3 separate regions of the Homo sapiens genome follow, and all the other regions are linked to region 3. Evidence: promoter capture Hi-C in human tissues and cell types (Jung and others, 2019). All regions are on one chromosome and are shown on one strand. The core of a region is centred on a gene start or on the middle of the fragment in contact, and the rest is flanking DNA. Distances in the headings are between cores, read along the strand shown.

Region 1 (3,698 bases), core at 535-3,034, 390 kb after region 3:
CTTGAACCTGGGAGGTGGAGGTTGCAGCGAGCCAAGATTGTGCCACTGCACTCCAGCCTAGGCGACAGAGCGAAACTCCGTCTCAAAAAAATCCAAAAACAAACAAACAAAAAACCACCACCACCAAAACAAACAAACAAACAAAACAAAAACAAAAACGACAACAACAAAAAACCAAAACCAAAACCGAAAAAACGTGGGGATAGCTAACAAGCTATTAGCATACTAGGAGACTATAGAGAACCCAGTATCTCTTTCAAAAGGCTATTCTTTTCCTCCCACCTGTTCTTCTCTTCCAGTTCTTTATTTGCTTTCCTCTTGAATTTGGGCAGCAGCTGCTGAAGAAGGTCTTTTACTGCATCTCGCTCTTTCACTGCTGTGCTTTCATTGGAAAAATGGAAGTTAGTTGTGTCCCCTGCATGTAGGACCAGCTGAAGCTGAATTTTAGCTTTTCCTTCTGGACTAATTTTCTGGCCTAAAAAGAAGCATGAGGGCAGTTAGATGATGACACTCACACTGTGGGAATAACCATACAGTAAGTTACTTCTCCCAAGATGATTCAGGATTCCTTTGGGCTTTAACTGCCCTATTCCAATACTGATGCTTTTGTAGAATGCACTCTTCTTAAATGATCCCATACAACCAGAGCATGCTCATCAAACTCACTAACACTCTGCTTCCTTCTTTGGTACTCTTGTCATGCAGCACTTCTCACCCACTGCTACTACCTCCAGATATTAATGGGCTTTTGTTACCATTCAACTAGGGCAGGGCAGACCTCTTTAAAGCTTCCTGAATGTATTTTAAACAAACTGCCCCAAATCAACATTATCATTAATAAAAAATGACCTATCATGATCCAAAAGACTGCAAAATGCGGCCCATGGCATTTCTTTTTGCAAGGGAAATATGTAATTTTATATTCGAGAAATCTGGTGTCACCACTTTAATAAAGTTATCAAACTTAGCCTCATTAAAAGTGAGACAACCTGACACTATATGCTTTCTGAGGTGATGGAACAGGAAGTGAATGTCACTATGTATGTTATTACTCTTGCACAAAATGTTTAAGCTGAATATATTCAAGCCTTTAGATCTGACTTTTAGCTTATAAAAAATACAGGTATACAGGAATAAATTAAAACCTTGAGGAGACAATCAGAAATATTCAGAATGTTTGATATTTGACAAGGCTATACCCTGAAAGGGACTAAAGAAATGACAACTACAGGAACCTAGATTGGATACCGTTTTTTTTAAAATAAAAAAATAAAAAAATAAACCAAAAACCACAACTATAAACATTACTGAGACAACCAATGGAAATGTAACAATGGCTATTTTTTATTAAAATGTTTTCAGTGTGATAATGGTATTACAAGCAATAAAAGTGCACACACAAATAATAAAGCAAATATGGCAAAATAATAACTAATATCTAGGTGGGGCATATTACGTAGGTTTTCACTGTATCATTCTTTAAAATTTTCTGTAACTTTGTCAGCTATGATAAGAACTAAATCAATTTCAATTGCTTCTTTCAGATGTGGGCATTCCTTCAAATATTCAACTTGAAACTGTTCTGGTGCAAATCTAGTTTTGGGTATGCACTGCTTTCACCAATAACTGAGAAGAATTGTAGAGAAATTGGAGATGGGCATACTGTTTATTGTACACTGTGGTTATCACAATGTGCGTGTGTATTACACAAAGCTATGGGGCTAGCTTCCCATTTGAGAGAGACGCTAATACTGCTAATTTATAAGTCTATTGTTACAGAAATGTTAGTAGCTAAGGCTATTAGCTAGTAACAGAAATTTGTAGGGCATTCTCTCAGAAATATATGTCTTTTTTTGAGAAGGAGTCTCGCACCCAGACTGGAGTGCAGTGGCGCGATCTTGGCTCACTGCAAGCTCCGCCTCTTGAGTTCACGCCATTCTCCTGCCTCAGGCTCCCGAGGAGCTGGGACTACAGGCGCCCGCCACCATGCCCAGAGAATTTTTTTGTATGTTTAGTAGAGATGGGGTTTCATTGTGTTAGCCAGGATGGTCTCGATCTCCTGACCTTGTGATCCGCCCACCTCGGCCTCCCAAAGTGCTGGGATTACAGGCGTGAGCCACCGCGCCCGGCCCTTAATTTTTGTATTTTTAGTAGAAATGGGGTTCCACCATGTTGAGCAGGCTGGTCTCAAACTTCTGATCTCAGGTGATCCACTCGCCTTGGCCTCTCAAACTTCTGGGATTACAGGTGTGAGCCATTGCACCTAGCCCATGCCTGAAATTTATAAAAAGAGATTCCACCACCTACATTCACTATAAGGTTGAGTCTTCTCAACAGAAGATGGCCACATAAGCAAAGATCAGACAACTTGCCTAACTGGTACAATTTTAGTGAAGGAAAATCTGGCATCATCTATCAGCATTTTAAATGCATAAACCTGGCCAAGCATGGTGGTGCATGCCTATAACATAATCCCAGAACTTTGAGAGGATGAGGCAGGAGTGTTGCTTGAGGCCAGGAGTTTGAGACCGGCCTGGGCAACACAGCAAGACTCTGTCCCTACCAACAATAACACAAAAAAACACATCAACTATTAAACAGGAAATTCTTTGCAGAAATGTATCCTACACATACAACCTTGAAATGATATTAGTGCAAACACTGCAATAAAAAAATTCTGGAAACTTCCTAAGTGTCCAACCACAGAGGGCTGGTTAAATACATGATTGTATATTCATTTAGTGGAGTATTATGCAACTCTTAAAGTGTGTGGAGATCTATATGTCAGGTAGATTTACATATTATATGTAAACCTGTACCTGTTCTGTTATTAAGTGAAAAGGTCAGGTTATAAAACAGTATATATTCAGTGACCCCATTTTGTAATTATTTCTACATAGTTGATTTTTTGATATAAAATAAAGATTTATATAATCTCTTTACAAAATTACTAGCAACTATGACATACAAATACATCAGAACTTAGTATAGCTGACTTACATTTAATATCTGCATACATATGGCTGATTGTAAATCTATCTTTGCCTTCAGGTGCCCAAGCAATTCTTTCTGCCATGAGGTACAGAGCTCCATCCTGCTTCTTTTGACGCACTTTCTTTACAATCAGCAAAACTTCTTCAGATGAGGTTGCCATGGTGGCTAGAAGGTGCTAAGAGAGAAAAAAAAGATGAAGAAAAAAACTATTCCACACATCAATTAGGGTTGAATTTGTTGACTTCTAGAGTCCCTTTCAAATATAAAATCTAAACTGTAGGAAATTAACGGGGAAGAAGAAAGTCTCTTTTCTCATTCAAAGTTGAAGATAAAGTTGCACGGCATCATTCCTCTACAATTAAATTTCATTTTGCTCATACCACAGGTGTAAATTTATACAATACTTATATGCTAATGAGTATTATTAATTTATTTTCCTCAGTTATATTCTTATACACACACAATTTGAAAATGTGTAGTCTTTCATATAGTCTATATTTACAATTGTAAAACTGTAGAATTACAGTCATATTTATTATTTAGTTCAAATTTGTTTCAATTGAAACTAAAGTCTGCAAGATATGTGGGGACTTCCCAGAACCACTCCCAGAGCTGAAACCACACCAAAGTTTCCTGATTTCTGGTCTGTTTCTTCTGTATAAATAAAACTGAGAGAACTAAATATTTAACACTTCACATGCTAA
Region 2 (4,001 bases), core at 825-3,324, 460 kb after region 3:
GACACTGGTGCGATCTCTAGTCACTGCAACCTCTGCTTCTCGGGTTCAAGTGATTCTCGTGCTTCAGCCTCCTGAGTAGCTGGGATTACAGGTGCCTGCCACCACGCCTGGCTACATTTTAGTATTTTTAGTAGAGACGGGGTTTCACCATGTTGGCCAGGCTGCTCCGGAACTCATGACCTCAAGTGATTCATCCACCTTGGCCTCCCAAAGTGCTGGAATTACAGGCGTGAGCCTTGGCTGCACTTTCTAATCACCCAGAGAGAAACTGAAAGTCCCAGTGCCCAGGCCACACCCCAGGCCAGTTTCTGCAGACTCTGCTGGGGAGTTGAAGGCATGGGTATTTCAGGTGATGCCAAGGTGTGCCTGAGATTCATAACCATCAACCTCTAGGAGGTGGTCAGTGATGCGTCTACCTGGCAAGAGCCCTGACCTCAAGCACAGCCGGGCTCAAACCTCTGCCCTGCCACCTGCTGACTGGCAGTAAGTCCCTGGGCATTGGCTTCAGCTGCTCTAAGTCTCAGCTTTCTCACCTTCCAAGATCAGCTTTCTCACCTTCCAAGAGAGGAAGATTGCGTCACAGAGTCATTCTGAAACTAAATGAGAAAATGCTGTGGTCCTTGTGGGGGCTTGAGGCACGTTAGTTCCCAGCTCTTGTCAAGAAGGCTGGAGAAGGAAGAATGGAAACAGAACAAACCAGGAAGGGAGCCCCTGACAGAGCGAGGCTAAAGAGCCCTGTACATTATCCAACTAGGAAATCGAAGGAGGAAGGAGAAAGAAGACAGAAGAGTCAACAGCCTTAGTCATACTCCTATGCGATTTATGCTGAGGGACATTTTATACCCATTGCAGGCCTTATTTTGCATCTTCTACGCAAAACAAACAGCTCAGGTGCTCCTGGAAAGGATGATTGTTCTTTCTCTGAGTAACTGACAACAATCCTCGACTCTCTAATCTGTTTAGCAGCTCCCCAGGCACATTGGGCAGCACAACCTAAGGCAGCGGCTCAAATCTTAAGGAAGCCCAAAAATACCCCGTGTGCGTTGTTACTGGATGCCCCGTCCCTTACGGCTCAGGAGATGTGTTTTTGATACACCTTGCAGCGGCTTCTGAAATGTGATCCATCCACTTAACACATCCTGAGAAGCTGCACTACGGGGAAAGGGGATATTCCCAGCAGCTCTGAAAGACTCGAGACAGGCAACCCAGCAAACCCTAGTTCCTGGCAGGCCTCAGCAACGCAGACACTAGCAACTCTGTGGTTCAAAAGCAGCCTTCCGAAAGCATCATTTTCCCCAGTTTATCAGGTCCAGGGTGATGTTTCTCTTCAGAAATCCTGCAAACCTTCTGAAGCCTTACCATCAAAAGCCTCGCCAAGGAACGAAAAGAAGCTTCGGCTGCTGACACCCAGGACCAAGGAGCAGAAAACCAGGCCCGTGAGAAGCTTCATGGTGCTGAAATGAAAGGAGAAGTCAGGCAGTCGCCCACAAGACTGGCACAGCTTCCCTTGGGACTTATATTCCGACGAGAGCCTGGTTATTTCCACTGGATCTTATTAGAGTCTCAGTGGCTCATCTAGGAAACCTTGCAGCAGGACCTCACTCAGAGCCAGAAGCCCTCGGTTCTGAACCCATCAGCCCTGAAGCCTGACTGCATAAGAGGATGCCAACGTGGCACTGATGGAGGAAGGCAGGAGTTACCACCAGACTGTCACTCCCTCAAGTAGCCTATAATTCCCCATAACGCATTTACCGTGTGTTCCCTCTGCCCCGCACAGAACTCAACATGGGATAAACACAAAGCAGGATCATTATTTTTTATTCTTAAAGCCTTTAGCACCTGGTATTCCCAGGTGTTCTCCCATCCAAGTACTACCAGGCCCGACCCTGCTTACCTCTCTAGATCAGAGGAGATAAGACACCTTCAGAATGGTATGGCTGTATGCCCCAGGATAACTATTTTTTTTAAAGGAAATGATAATCTTGTTGGGAAAGAGAAAACAGAGTAAGTTTTAAAAATCACTCCTTGGTGTGCTCCTCACCTGATCTGTGCTGTAGCTGAGCTGCGGGTCCCTGCCTGCCAGGGAGCGGTGGCTGCTATTTATACTGAGCCTTCCCTGCTGGTTTCTTGGGAGCGAAGAAAAGCTGGATGTGGTCCCTGGGGAAAGTCCCTGCAGGTCATTTCCCCTACAAAACGGTCTAAGACAAGTTCCTGGATGCCAGTGGTTTCTTCATCCCGGGTCATTTATCCCAGTTGTGCAACCTGAGGGAACAAGATGTGCCTGGCAGCTGTCAGGGCAGGAGACCAGCTCTGCTCCTCAGCATTGAGGGGGCTGAGGCTGCGGAGTTGAGAGTGGGAGCCCCGTGATGGCGGCACCTGGGCTGCTGGAAGGTGTGAAGTGAGGGCAGCTTTGAAGCCAGCTCCTGACTCTACCAGTCATTTCCTCAGGATGGGCTCTGCTGGGCCACATGGCAGATGCCTCTGAAATGAAGTCCCTCTGAGTTCATATCTAAAGCTTCAAAGCTGACAGACTAGGTCCAGCACAGTGGCTCACTCCTATAATCCCAATGCTTTTGGAGGCCAAGGCAGGAGGATCACTTGGGGTCAAGAGTTTAAGATCACTCTGTGCAAAACTGTAAGATCTTGTCTCTACGAAATATAAAAATAAATGGACCGGGTGTGGTAGTGTGCACCTGCAGTCCCAGCTACTCAAGAGGCTGAAGCGGAAGGATTGTGGGAGACCCAGGAGGTCAAGGCTGCAGTGAGCTATAATCACGCCACTGCACTCCAGCCTGGTTAACAGAGCAAGACCCTGTGTCTAAAAGAAAACAAAATAAAACTAGCAGCCTACCCCTGCCATGTCTCATGTGTGCCCTGGAAGGCTCCTTCCACCCCTCAGTCTAGATATCCAGAGATTTACCTCCTCAGCACAGAAAAGCCCTGCTCAGCTGGCCTAGTCAATTAGGAAATTAGGAAGGAAGGAAGTGGTCAGTACCAGAGCCCAGCAGGGCTGAGGCCAGGACATGCAGAGAGGCTGGTGGATATAGCAGCAACTGTGGTTTCTTCTTCTCCAGTCCGTTTTCACTCTTTTATTTTTTCTTTCTTTCCTTCCTTCCTTCATTTCTTCCTTCCTCTCTCTTTCTCCTTCCTTCCTTCCTTACTCCCTCTCTGTCTTCCTCCTTCCTTCTTCTCTCTTCCTCCTTCCTTCCTCTCTCTCTTCCTTCCTTCTTTCCCTCCTTTCTTCCTCTTTCCCTCCCTCCCTTCCCTCCCTCCCTCCTTCCTTCCTTCTTTTCTTCCTCCCTTCTTCTCTTCCTCCCTTCCTTCCTCTCTCTTTCTCCTTCCTTCCTCTCTCTTTCTCCTTCCTTCCTTCCTCTCTCTTTCTTTCCTCTTTTCTTTTCTTTCTTTCAGAATGCTATGAATATAGGCCTCAGGATAACTACTTTTTAAAGGAAATGACAATCTTGTTGGGAAAGAGAAAACAGTAAGTCTTAAAAACACTCCTTGGCATACTCCTCACCTGATCCTCCTCTCCTCCCCTCCCCTCCCCTCCCCTCCCCTCCCCTCTCTCCTCCCCTCTCCCCTCCCCTCTCCCTTCCCCTCCCCTCCCCTCCCCTGCCCTCCCCTCCCCTCCTCTCTTCTCCTCTCCTCTCAAGACAGGGTCTTGCTCTGTTGCCTGAGCTGGAGTGCAGTGGTGCAATCATGGCTCACTGCAGCCTCAGCCTCCCAGGTTTAAGTGATCCTTGCATCTCAACCTCCCAAGTAGCTGGGACTGCAGTTGTTTGCCAATATGTTTGAGTAATTTTTAAAATTTTTAGTACAGTGGGAGTTTCACCATGTTGCCCAGGCTGGTCTCAAATTCCTAACCTGCAGTCCTCCTGCCTTGGCCTCCCAAAGTGCTGAGATTATAGGCATGAGCTACCATGCCCAGCCAGAAGTTCATATCTGATTGCTTCTATTTTTCAGTGAAATAGGAAGCAAAGTTGTCAACTGAGAAGAGAATG
Region 3 (3,758 bases), core at 110-2,609:
ATCCCATGTTAGCTCCACAGATCCCAACAGCAGCTGCAGCCCAGTAATTTCCCTTGTAAGGCCTGGGCTCAGAGTAGCTCCTCCCAAGGGGCCCAGGGAATCTGCATGTGGGCTGAGATCCTGAGCCATCCTGGACACTCCTGCTCTATTCTTGTCCCCTGCCCCCCTGGGATGGAGCAAAAGTAGCCATGATGCCACTGCTGGCAGGTGGGGGTCACCCCAGGGCAGAAGGAGGGGTCCAGGGCAAGGGTGCTGACCAACAAGTCCTTACAAGGTGCCAGAACCTTGGGTGGGATCCAGGGTCCAGGCATGCGGGGTGTGCTACAGATGATGAGAAAACAACAGGGTGGGCTGGACACGGTGGCTCACGCCTGTAATCCCAGCACATTGGGAGGCCGAGGGGTGGCAGATCATGAGGTCAGGAGTTCGAGACCAGCCTGACCAACATGGTGAAACCCCATCTCTACTAAAAATACAAAAATTAGCCGGGCGTAGCGGTGCACGCCTGTAATCCCAGATACTCAGGAGGCTGAGGCAGGAGAATCGCTTGAACCTGGGAGGCAGAGGTTGCAGTGAGCCAAGATCGTGCCACTGCATCCAGTCTGGGTGACAGAGACTCCATCTCAAAAAAAAGAAAAGAAAAGAAAACAACAGGTGGCTGAAGCAGCCCAGATGGAAGTCCTTGAGAAGAGGTGGCCATACTCTCCAGTCACCCTCAAGCAGAGACCTCCCCACAACCCCCGGAGGATGGGCCCTCCTACTCTTCTACCCAGATTAGGGAGATTGGGCTGTTGAAGTGGGAAGAGGAAGGAGACCTAACATTTCCCTGTTCTTCCCCAGGGTGGCCTTGTAAAGATACTCAGGCTGTGTATGAACCACACATAGGAGTGCAACATGAATGGGAACCCCTGGATTTGTGTAGCAACGCAGCAGATCCCAGAGGCCCTCCCCAGTTCACCGTGTCCCAGTCCCTGGAAAATACAGACCTGTTGCTTTGCTCCCTGAGCCCTGCTGGACTATGCATGCACCTGTACCTGAGTGTGTGCCTGTGCACACACACTACCCTGAGCCCCTCAGCTCAGAGAGGTCCTACCCAGCAGCAGTGAGAGCCAAAACCTGTACCACAAGGGAACAAAAAAAGTACCCCTGGACTGCCACCCTCAGCCTCCTTCCCGCCTGGCCTTCAGTGTTTCCCCCAGCCTGGATCCAGCTTTGCTTCCCGCCTCCCTTCTCCACCGCCCTCCCCCTCCCCCCACAACCAAGCAGTGTGCCATCTAGCTGAGACAGCTGCAGAGCCTGACTAAGGAATCGCCCCCAGGGGGCCAGACATTTAAGGAACAGATGACACTGGTAGCCTCACTGTTGGGGCAAAGGAAGAAGGAGACGGGCCACCCTACAGTCCAGGCACTAGCTGAGCCTCCAAAGCCGTGGACACAGCATTCGAGTGTTGGGAGGGACTGGTCAGTGCTGAAGGTAAGGCTCCCCTCCTCCCTCAGGAAGGGGACAAAGCTGACCACCTTCTGAGCCCAGAGGGGACTATAGGGTAGAGGGCAGGAATAGGAACAGGGGAGTAGTCTCAGAACCCAAAGGTAGAAGCAGCCCAGGCAGAGATATATTAGGGGGTGGAGAGAGGGAATAGAGTTTAACCCCTAACTACCTGGGTTAAAGAAGGCTTTGGAGCCCTCTGGGACGCCACTGGACTGGAGTCAAAAGCTAGGAGTCTAGTCTGAGTGACCTTGGACAGGTCATTTCTTTCAGACATCAGTTTCCTCATATACGAAATAGGACTTTAAAAACTGCAATGCTGGGCCAGGCGCGGTGGCTCACGCCTGTAATCCTAGCACTTTGGGAGGCTGAGGTGGGCGGATCACGAGGTCAGGTATTCGAGACTAGCCTGGCCAACATAGTGAAACGCCATCTGTACTAAAAATACAAAAAATTAGCCGGGTGTGATGGCGGGTGCCTGTAGTCCCAGCTACTCGGGAGCCTGAGGCAGGAGAATTGCTTGAACCTGGGAGGCAGAGGTTGTCGTGGGCCAAGATCGTGCCACTGCACTCCAGCCTGGGCAACAGAGCAAGACTCTGTCTCAAAAAAACAAAAACAAAAAAACTGCAATGCTGGCCACATGCAGTGGCTCACACCTATAATCCCAGCACTTTGGGAGGCCAAGGCAGGCGGATCAATCGAGGCTAGGAGTTTGAGACCAGCCTGGCCAACAAGATGAAACCCTGTCTCTACTGAAAACACAAAAATTAGCTGGGCATGGTGGCACGTGCCTGTAAACCCAGCTGCTGGGGAGGCTGAGGCAGGAGAATGGCTTGAATTCGAGAGGAGGAGGTTGCAATGAGCCGAGATCACCCAAAAAAAACCGCAATGCTGGTTAAATAAAACATTGAGAAAACATGGTGCTCTGAACAGGAATGAGGAAACGCTATCATCTGGTATGGAAAAAATCTCCAAGACACATTAAATGAAAAAAGAAAGGGTCAGAATAGTGTGTATAATGGGCTACCTTATGTGCTTTTTTAATTAAAAAAAAAAAAGGAAGATGATAAGAACACATGAGTTTTCCTATTTGCATGATGGAGGTCTAGAAGGAGCCTAGAGACTGGCTACCTGTTGCAATGGGGAAGGTTGTAAGATAGACGCAGGAGTGGGAGGGAGCCTGTCCATATGGATTTTTATATTGTTTTATTCTTTAACTATGTGATTGAATTACCAGTTCAAAGAAAAATGTAAGAAAAACTAAACCTTTGCCTTTACCATGTCGCAAACACAAGCAGAATTGTAGTGATGTTTTGTCATCTGTTTTAGCATTCCACCAGTGCCGGGGTCCCCAGGGCCCAGGAATAAGAGACACAGCTTCCTTCTAAAGCCCACTCCAGTATGGCTTAGTCAGGAAGTTCTTTCTTAGGTCTGACTGCATTCCCTCCTGATGAAACATCCAGCACTGCCTCCTTAGTGCCATGTAGCTATCAATAGGTATCCTCAACTCCCTCCAGGCCTTACTTGGTTGGCTGGGTAAGTCTAAGCCCTATAACCTCTCCCTCTGAGACCCTGGAATAGTTTGGAGTTACTCAGTGAGAGGACAGGCCTATTGGGTCTGGTAACTAACCAGGAAAAGGAAGCTAGGAAATGAAGAAAAGAGAGCTCGACTGCTCTCCTGGCCCTCTCCTGTGTGCTTCCATCTCCTCTTATGTCTGAACACACACATAACATCTCTGAATCTCCCTCCTACTCCCTGTCTTGTCCTTCATGGCCTCATCCTCTTCCCCAGTCTCACAGGTGAGTGCCCACGCCTGCTGTCACCATGACAACCATTCACAGCCGGCAGATGCTGCAGGAGCACGTGTCCATGGAGTTCTCCAGCTCCACCACCCACGTGCAGACCTTCTCCCAGACAACCAAGATCGTGGGAGGCAAGTGGAATGGGGGCAGGGAAGGGATCGGGAAGGGCAGCTATTCTTCCTCCACACCCATCCCTTGGGTGGCCCCAGTTTTGCCACTAATGGGCCCCTCTGGAGCCCACAATACCAACAGCAACCCCCACCCAACGTGTGCTTCTAATCTTGGCTTTGTTAAAGCTTCAGCCAGCTGGATGTTCAACACAGATCAGATCTCCAGGAAAACAGCTTAGAAAAGATCAATCATGTGGATGTGTGTGAATGATTGATAAACTCTTAATTGCTGAAGGAGATCAGAGCCATAGGTGAACAGATTCTATCTCCAAAGGTAGAATTTCAGGCATAGGGGAAATT

The links. The method cuts DNA at HindIII sites, captures the fragments that hold promoters and counts their contacts. A contact is called where the count stands out against the background at its distance.
Region 1: a fragment that was not itself captured here is called in contact with the fragment with the promoter of IGSF22 in region 3 in 1 of the 25 tissues and cell types used here (bladder).
Region 2: the fragment with the promoter of SAA1 here is called in contact with the fragment with the promoter of IGSF22 in region 3 in 1 of the 25 tissues and cell types used here (mesenchymal stem cells).

The regions. Positions count from the first base shown.
Region 1 is chr11:18,332,531-18,336,228 of GRCh38, reverse strand. It overlaps GTF2H1 (general transcription factor IIH subunit 1), which reads right to left. Exons shown (of 15, transcript NM_005316.4): 2 at 3,001-3,169; 3 at 283-475. The coding sequence starts at 3,154. Among named protein-coding and RNA genes, the nearest start is that of GTF2H1, 12 kb to the right of the region's middle. The HindIII fragment of the contact is 6,284 bases long and covers 1-3,698 here.
Region 2 is chr11:18,264,337-18,268,337 of GRCh38, reverse strand. It overlaps SAA1 (serum amyloid A1), which reads right to left and starts at 2,074. Exons shown (of 4, transcript NM_199161.5): 1 at 2,042-2,074; 2 at 1,360-1,454. The coding sequence starts at 1,450. It also overlaps the pseudogene RNA5SP334. The HindIII fragment of the contact is 1,672 bases long and covers 1,981-3,652 here.
Region 3 is chr11:18,723,789-18,727,546 of GRCh38, reverse strand. IGSF22 (immunoglobulin superfamily member 22) reads left to right here and starts at 1,359. Exons shown (of 23, transcript NM_173588.4): 1 at 1,359-1,473; 2 at 3,278-3,419. The coding sequence starts at 3,311. All of the region lies in intron 2 of IGSF22-AS1 (IGSF22 antisense RNA 1), which reads right to left. The HindIII fragment of the contact is 11,359 bases long and covers 1-3,758 here.